Regions from separate parts of the Homo sapiens genome. Here region 2 is linked to region 1. Evidence: promoter capture Hi-C in 16 types of primary human blood cells and fetal thymus (Javierre and others, 2016). All regions are on one chromosome and are shown on one strand. The core of a region is centred on a gene start or on the middle of the fragment in contact, and the rest is flanking DNA. Distances in the headings are between cores, read along the strand shown.

Region 1 (4,371 bases), core at 834-3,333:
GACAGATGCTGGCATCCCGTCCCTCCACGCCGTCCAGGCTTTTGGCTAGTAACACTGGTTGTCCCAGAGCACAACTGTGAGGCTGCTCCAGGATGAAGGACAACCCATTCCTATTCTGCCAGCATCAGGGTCCTCCTGGGACCCCTCAGAGAGGGGGCCCAGACCAAGGAGACCCCATGCAGCTAGTCCTGGTTTGAGGGAGAGAGGCTCAGAACTCATCTGGTTCCAGACCTGCCTCTGCCCCCAGATCACAGAGTGGCCTTGGGCAAGTCATTTAATGCCATTTGGCCTCAGTTTCCCTATCTGTTAAATGGCTACTAGAATAAGATGACCTCTGAGGTCCTCGCTTGTTCAAAGATTTTATGATGATCATAAAAATAATAACTTTTATTACCCTACATTTATAGGGCTCGTTACAAAATTTCGAAGTGCTTTTATGTAAATTACCTCGTAAAATCCTCCCCTCAGCCCTGTGAGTGAGAGCTGATTATTTTCATCTCTTTGATCTTGGCTCTCTGGATTGCCTGGCGCACGAGGCGGCGTGGGGAGTGGGTTGCAGCCCCCACAGTCCGGACCCCTAGGGTGGGTCTGGCCCCCTCCTGAGCCTGCGAGAGTGAAGGCCTAGCCCTGCGAGTCCTGGAGCTCGGTCCAGGCTTCGTCTCCCTCCGCCCCCAGCAGGCGCCGCTCGGACACCGCTGACACCACTGTCTGGATCGGCGAACCCCAAAGTCGAGGAACCGCCGGTGCAGCCGCCCTTCACCTCGGGGACCTGCCCGGGGACCAGGGGGACGTCTGGGCATCCACCCTCAGGAAGCGGGCAGCGCAGATCACACCTCGGATCCTTCGTAGCACTCCCAAACCCAAAGCCACCAGCCCTTCTCCACCGCGAGGCTGCTCCCGGCAGCCACAGGTCACAGCAGCGAGCGGCTGCACAGACTATCGAGCGAACAGCGGAGGCTGGAGGCAGGGGCGGGGATGCTGGGTGTGGGTGGATGGGTAGGAGGGGAGGCCTCAGACCCTCCCTGTGCACCACCCCCCGGTGGGTCCGCGGCTGCACCCGCGACCTTGGCTCCAGGCCCGCGCAGCGAAGCACCCCCAGCCCCAGCGGCTGGCCGAGCAGCCAGGGGCGGGCTCCCGTACGTGGCCAAGCCGGGCAATTGCTCTCCCCGGGCGAGCAACCCGGCATCCAGCGCTCGCCCACCCCACTCCCTCGCCCCGGGGAGGCCATCGCCTGCCCGGCAGGGGCCCTGCCCTTCCCCGCAGACACCGAGCAGGGAACCAGGAGCTCGGTCTGGGAAGCTCAGCGTAGCCGAGCGTGGAGCCCGGCACGGAATGTCGCTCCCCTCCCAAGCCGGCGCAGGGCAGCCACAGCAGACGGGGGGAGGGGAGCGCCCCTCCCACTTCACCTTGGGCTCTTCTCTGCCTCCCCAGGTCGTCCCCACCTTCCCCCATTCGGAAGCCACAAGTCTCGGAGAGACTGCCCCACCCCCAAAAGAGCCCCAAAACTTGGGAGATGGGGTGTCTTGAAACTCCCTGGAGAGGGCTCTGCCACGGCTAAGCCGGGTGTCCAGGAGGTCACCGTGAGGCCGGCCAGCTCCCGCCGCCCCTCCCCCGCCCACTCTCCCAGCCCCCTCCCTGTCCCCACGTGGGGGTCCCTCCTTACCTTGGGCTCTGGCCGCGCGGATCTGATGCAGAGCTAGCAGTGTCCAGATCAAAAGCCCCCACATGGTGACCAGCCTGGAGAGGGGTCCTCGGGGTCTCCCTTCCCTCCGCCCTGTTTTATAATCCTGGTGGGGTCCGATACCCCGTGGCTTAGTCCCAGGAAACAGTCAGTCTACGCGGCTCCGTGCCCCGGGGTGTAATATGCCCGGGAGGGGCAGCGCTTGGCTACCCCAACCCTTCCTCCTCTTCTGTACTAGTCCGAGCCCGGCAGCGCGCCCGGAAGGCGAGGGGCGAGCAGGGAGAAAGAGGCCAGGCCGCCCTCTCGGACTAGGGCGCCTCTCTCCCTTAGCACCCCAACTCCGACTTCTCCCAAACAGGGCGGCCTCTGCGATCCGGCCGGGTCGCCGGCCGAGCTCCGGAATAAATGGACAACTTCAGGAAACTTCCTCCCGTGGCCACGTTGCCCGCCCCCTCCCCGCCCCCTGGTTGGGTTCTCCCGGCCGACGCAGTCACCGCCGTTCCAGGCGCCGGGCCCCCGGGACCCGGCCAGAGCCGAGCGCAGTGGCAGACGCGGGTGCGGGGGTTCTTTTAGGGGCGCCGGTTTCGGGGGACGCGGTGAGCATAGCGGTCCGAATCTCCCTGGAGCTGAAGTTTTCTTCTCTCTAACTTTGCAGGCAGCATCTGGCGGGGCCGAACCACCCCCTCTGGGCTCCACCGCCCTCGCGCCGAATCGGGAGACGCCGGGTCTCCTCCGGGGGCGCTGGGGCCGGGCGCGCCCTCGGCTCCGCGCCCAGCCGGCTAGCAAACTTTGCGGGTCCCGGAGCCGGGCGCGCAGCCCTGAGCGCCCATGTCCGCGCCAGCCGCGGGGCGGCGGGGGAGGGTGCTGGGCTTCGCGACGCGGGCTGTCGCCGGCGCCCGGGCGCAGAGCCTCCTGCCGGCCCGAGGATGGAGACCGGCGGCTCTGCCCTCCGCCGCGCCCCGGCCGGAGCTCTCGGGAAGACGCACGGAGAGCCCGGCGGGCAGCCCCGGCTCCGGGGACGCGGCGCCCCTTCGGACGCCCGGCGATCGCCGACCTCCCGGGCCGGAGGAGCAACGGCCGCCCCAGCGCCTCGGCCGCCGCTGCCGCTCGCCGAGCCCGCCGCCCTCCGCTTCCCGGGCTCGGCGTCCAGAGAGCCGCTCCTGCCTGCGCCGAGCCGGAGCTGCGGGGGCAGCGTGAGCCGGGGACGAGCGCGGCGGAGGCGGAGACGCGGAGAGGGGGGCCGAGCGCTACCCCGTGGCCGCGACTGGAGAGCAGCCTGCGCGCCGGGAGGGGCGGCGGCGGCGGCGGCGGCCCCGAGCCAGGCCCGGGAGCGAGCCCCGCAGAAATACAATCCGACTGCGCGGCCGCGGGCGCCCAGCGGCTCTGGGACCCGCAGGGGGGCAGCAGTGCCAACCTTCTGCCGCGCCGGGAGAGATGCGCGCGAGCCCCTCCGCTCTCTGCCCAGCCTTTCCTTCCAGCCTCGCTCGCGCCCCTGTCTCAAAGGCCTCATAGGACTCCCAGAGTCTCCTATAGTCGGGAGCCCCCAGCCCCCTTCCGGACATGGAGTGATTGGTGGGGAGGCGGCGGTTGGGAAAAGGGGGTCGGTCAACCGATTGATTCCAGTTTCCCCTTCCCAAGTCAGGCTCTCCAAGGTCTGGAAATGCTCAGGGCGGAGGGGGAGACATCGGGAGGCCTGGGACCTGCAGAAGCCTGAGAAAGTGAAGTTGGTGCCAAGGAGCGTGCGTTCTTTGTTTCTTCTTTTTTCCTTCGGAGCCCAGCTTGTAAAGAGTAGAAGAACCGGACATTGGTGGAGGAATTCAAACAAGAGAGCCCGGAGGCGTCCTCTGCTGTGGCCCAGAGCTAGCGCCTACTCCACGAAGCTCAGCTGGGGTTAACAGGCTTCTGTTAAAATTTCCCGGGCACTGGGAAAATTTCAGGTGCCTTCGCCTCGGTGGACTCCTTTCCCTGCTAACAAAATTATTAAAAATAAGATTTTGCAACTGCGTTGGCATAAGGAAAAGTATATTAATATTGCATATTAAAACATGTTCTTCAGCCTAAAGCTTTACTTATTTTTTTCTGATTTTAAAAGAAATCAAAACATTTTCATGGGCCCCAAAAGACTATGGTCCCTGGCACTGGGCCTGCGGTGCTTAATGCAGAAGTCTACCCTGCGTGTCTGATATTTCTTCTGGGAAATAAAGAGCTAGTGAGACCCTCCATCTTTTGCCACAGTGCTTCTCTCTACTCTCTCTCGTGGTCCTACTTAGTCTGGTCCCCCACGGCTGCCTAGTCTTTCTGGTCCTTGAAGTCTAGGACTGTCACTCACTGATTGCCAACTCTTTCCCAGGCGCACTCCCACCCCAAGGACACCCCTTGTGATTGCTGTGGAATAGGCATAGCCACCGCAAATATATCGTTACTTATATATTCTCCTTTCACCTGCTTTGGAAGAAGAACCGTAAGCATTTATTAAAAATGTCTGAGAAGCTGGCCTGCCTTGCCTACAGCGTTTCAATCACCTAATTCAAACAACATTTCCCCCTGGCAACCTGCTCCATCCCCAGCTGAAGCCCCTCTGGCTGGCTGATTTGTAAATGCGAGGGCTTTGGGGGCAGGCAGCCTAGATGTGACCAACTCTCCTTCTCCTTGGTGGCCATGTCACTCCCACCTGCTTAATGATGCCCAGA
Region 2 (4,312 bases), core at 1,176-3,675, 540 kb after region 1:
CCTGCTGTGCACCAGAGAGAGCTGCTCCCAAGCCACCAAGGGCTCACCCCAACCCTACCACCTGACAGCTACCTGAAAATAGTCTACCCCGCACTCCTACCCTCCAGTTAACCTACTTTGCATACGTTAAAGACTGTTTTACCATTGGCTTGCATCTCTGCATCCCCTGTAGCTAGGTCTACCCCGCACTCCTACCCTCCAGTTAACCTACTTTGCATACGTTAAAGACTGTTTTACCATTGGCTTGCATCTCTGCATCCCCTGTAGCTAGCACACAGAAGGGGCCTAATATGTGCTTATTGAAGTCATTAATCCAGTCCAGCGCCTGCCAAAGCGGGAATCCCTTCTGATAACGTCACCGATGGCTGCTCTCCCAGCCCCCTCAAGGGCCACCGGTTATTCCGTATGCTGTTGTGTCCGTCAGGTTTCTGTGGCAAGGGACAGAACAGCAACTCGGATTCACTGGAGTAGAGAAGGGAGCTGCACAGGCAGAGAGAGCAGAGTTGGGTGCTGGCAGGTGCGGATTGAGGGTAAGAAAGAGAACGGAGTCAGGTGCTGGCAGGCCTGGATGACCACATCTGGTTTTCCCATCCTTTTATTCTGTTTTCCTTAGCCCCCTGCCATGCCCATATCCCCATCTCCAGACTCTGCTTCTGTTTGTTGCTGGTCCTAGCCTGCCCTTCTGCATACCAGCTGCCTTCATGCAGCAGGAGGAAGGGAGATGGCCACAGGCTCTTCCAGGCTTGCACGATCCTAGCACAGGATCCCAGAGGCTCCCTCTCCCTCTCCTGTTGAACATATCTTTTTTTTTTTTTTTTGAGACAGCGTTTTGATCCTGTTGCTCAGGCTAGAGTGCAATGGTGCAATCTCAGCTCACTGCATCCTCCACCTCCTGGGTGCAAGTGATTCTCCTGCCTCAGCCTCCCAAGTACCCAGGTAGCTGGGATTACAGGCACCTGCCACCACGCCAGGCTAATTTTATGCTTTTTTAGTGGAGATGGGGGTTTGCTATGTTGGCCAGGCTGGTCTTGAACTCCCGACCTCAGAAGATCCACCCGCCTTGGCCTCCCAAAGTACTGGGATTACAGGCGTGAGCCACTGTGCCCGGACATATCTTGAGGAATATCTAAATCTCAGGAATGACTCTGTCTGGACCAGTTCCGATCCCTGAGTCCCCACTGCCCAACCTCCTGTCCATTCTTAAGGCCTGAGAGACAGGTACAATGTCCCAGGGCACACATGTCTGCCCCTGTGGTCAAGGGGAGGGGAAAGGACACTGTTACTACCTGCCCATCAGAATTGTGTGCAATGGGAAGTAGGACAGAAGAATCTTCCAAATGAGGGAGGGTATCTTACCAGGAAGAGGGAAGGAGACATGCCGAGAAAGTGCAGTGTTTCAACAGTGTCCCCCAAAACATTCACTTCCATCTGATCCTCAGGATGTGACCTAATTTGGAAATAGGGTCTTTGCAGATGTAGTTAGGGTGAGGATCAAGCAGAGATTATCCTCTTGATAATCTCTTTGAAGGGTGTTTTGGGGGGCCAGCCGTGGTGGCTGACGCCTGTAATACCAACACTTTGAGAGGCTGAGGTGGGCAGATACCTGAGGCCAGGAGTTCAAGACCAGCCAGGCCAACATGGCCAAACCCCATCTCTACTAAAAATACAAAAATTAGCCAGGCGTGGTGGCACACGTGGTGGCTGTAATACCAGCTATTTGGGAGGCTGAAGCAAGAGAATCGCTTGAACCTGGAAGGCAGAGGTGGCAGTGAGCCGAGATCGCGCCACCGCACTCCAGCCTGAGCAACAGAGACTCTGTCTCAAAAAAAAAAAAAAAAGAAGAGATTATCCTGGATTAGGGTGGGTCCTAAATCCAGAGAGCATGTCCTTTTAAGAGACAAAAAAGGAAACACACAGACACAGGAAGGAGACCACGTGAGGATGGAGGCAGAGACTCGAGTGATGTGGCCACAAGCCGAGGGACACCAGGAGCCCCGCCAGCAACTGGGATAGGCAAGAAGGGACCCTCCCCTAGAGCCTCAGAGGGAGCACAGCCCTTCCGACACCTGGATTTCAGACTTCTGTGCTGAAGAACTGGGAGAGTATCAATTTCTGCTGTTTTAGGCCAACAAATGTGTGATCATTTGTGATGGCAGCTCTTAGAAAAGAACCCAGGAGGCCAAGACCAAAAGTCGTCCACTGTGCCATTTTCTGGGGTGGCAGATGTTTTAGGGGGCTGGAAAGCACCTGGTGGAGGTGTCAGCTCACTTCCCAGAGCCACGCCCACCAGCCGCCACTCTGCTGCAGAGACTCGGCTCAGGACCACTCCTCCCTGAACTGTCTGTCTAGAGCCTGCACACATGTGTGACATGGCAGACCCTAAAGTGTCCAGAGATTTTAGGACCTCCCCACCACCACCACCATCAACCACTTATGAGTAAACTGAGGCCCAGAGAAGCTAAACAGCCTGTCCCCTTCAGATAGTTAGAAGAATTTCTGAATACAAGGAAGAATTCTTCAGTAAAATTGATACATGACCTCTTTCTTTCTTCTTTGTTAAAAAATCTGATTAATTAGTAAAAGCTGGAGTGTTTGATAGTCACTGCTGAGAACACTGGAATCGTCAGGAAGCTAAATGCTTCTGAGCAACGGGCAAAGCGCTGGAGATCAAGCGGGCATTTTTTTGGCCTAAGATTTTGACAGGGTCAAGAGGACGTTCAACCCCTCACTGAGCCTTCGCGCTCCTTGTCTAATTTAATTGTTTGGAAGTCAGAAAGTGCAGTAGCTTTCTAGTTTCTTCTTTTCCAGGCTGAGATTTCATTCCTTGAAACATTCTTCTTTCCTTGATACAGTTTGCAAGGCCTCCACCTTGCTGGCAAGCAATCTGTGCACACACTCACCGCTCCTCACTGCAGCCTCACTGCTGGGCTGCCTGCTCTGGCCCTGCCGGGAGACCTGGGCTGGGGCAGGATGGTGGCCGCTGCCCGGAGGCACGGGGCGGGGAGAGACGTGTTGAGATCAGGCCTCTCCCATCAGCCCCCAGGCCCAGGAGTGGACACAAAACATGGAGAGCCCAGCTCCTGACTCCTCCCATTCCAGCCCTCCCAGCCCCCTCCACAGAGAAATCCAGAGCCCATCCCAGGCAGCTTCTCCAGGCAGCAGGTGGTTCCACAGCCTAATTCAGGACCTCTAATCTCCCCCCAGGTCCCCAGCTTCTGAGACTTTGACGTACTGACTCCTGCCTCCCACCTGCGAAGCCCAGCAAAGCTCTCGCCTTTCTCCCACTCCCAAGAGTTGACAGACTCCAGGCTGCTTTTCAGATGATTTGGGGACCTTCCTGGGAGACACTTTGAAGCCTCTTCAAAGCCAACTGTGTTGTGAGCAGCTGCCAAGCTGCAGAAAGTCCCCGCAGCCCTGGGCCACCTCTAATTACCAAGCCCACCATCACCCTGTCAGTGCCTTTGGTGGGCCCTTCCTCTGCAGCCAGCAGCAAGTGCCCATCGTCACCCAAGAGCAGGAGGAGGGAGAGGAGTCTGCAAGGAACTTCTTCCAAAGAACACTGCACTTCCAAAGAACTGCACCTGAGGAGTTCCCGTGAACAAACGTGAACAACTGGTCTGATATTTACTAAGCGCCAGGGGTGCCCCTGTGCTGTCTCACACTGAGCTAGGCACACGAAGAAAATGGAAGTTGTGCAAAGGCTCAACTTCTGTTCTCCCCAGTTTCTCTCCTCTGCACTTTAGGCTCTGAGCTGCTGAGCTCCCAGCCCAGGCTGTCTCCAGCTCCTCCAGCCTGAGAAAGGAGCACAGATCATTGATTCTCTCCTGGGCTCCTCACCCACCCCTCCCCTTGTCTCCACCTCATTCCCCTGGATCCTTAGTTAAGAAGAGGCAAATGTTCCTTCTCCATTAGCAGCATCATTTAAACAGATGGCTGCAGGGCAGGGCCCGAAGCCTCCCCATCCCCAGGCCCTGCAGCTTTTCCTTCTACCTGCTTCCCACTCCCCACCCCAGGCTGGGAAGACTGGTGAGAGGCTGCTGGGTTGGCTGGGGGAGACCGAGGCAGCAAGTGGCCCCAGAGCTCCGCAGGCCTACCTGCCCCCTTAAGAACCAAGCCCCCTCCCCACCCTGGGCCTGTAGCTTCAGAGCATGGGGCTGAATCTCATCAACAAGAAATTTGAAGCCATTAAAATACAATGAAAGAGAAATTAAATGTAATCGCTCTGTAAATTATAACTAATTGAAACATCAATTGTAATTTTTATGATCTGCATTCAGAGTGAGTGATGGTGGAGTTGCAAAATGAAAGTTAA

The links. The method cuts DNA at HindIII sites, captures the fragments that hold promoters and counts their contacts. A CHiCAGO score of 5 or more calls a contact.
Region 2: a fragment that was not itself captured here is called in contact with the fragment with the promoter of SDK2 in region 1 in 6 of 17 cell types (M1 macrophages, M2 macrophages, M0 macrophages and 3 more); the score reaches 9.1 in M1 macrophages.

What each region holds. Positions count from the first base shown.
Region 1 is chr17:73,642,362-73,646,732 of GRCh38, forward strand. SDK2 (sidekick cell adhesion molecule 2) reads right to left here and starts at 2,084. Exons shown (of 45, transcript NM_001144952.2): 1 at 1,664-2,084. The coding sequence starts at 1,727. It overlaps LOC124904054 (a long non-coding RNA gene), which reads left to right and starts at 3,113. Exons shown (of 2, transcript XR_007065893.1): 1 at 3,113-3,333; 2 at 3,460-3,743. The HindIII fragment of the contact is 5,171 bases long and covers 1-3,742 here.
Region 2 is chr17:74,177,493-74,181,804 of GRCh38, forward strand. No RefSeq gene overlaps it. Among named protein-coding and RNA genes, the nearest start is that of RPL38, 24 kb to the right of the region's middle. RefSeq lists an enhancer at 2,475-3,051. The HindIII fragment of the contact is 6,389 bases long and covers 1-4,312 here.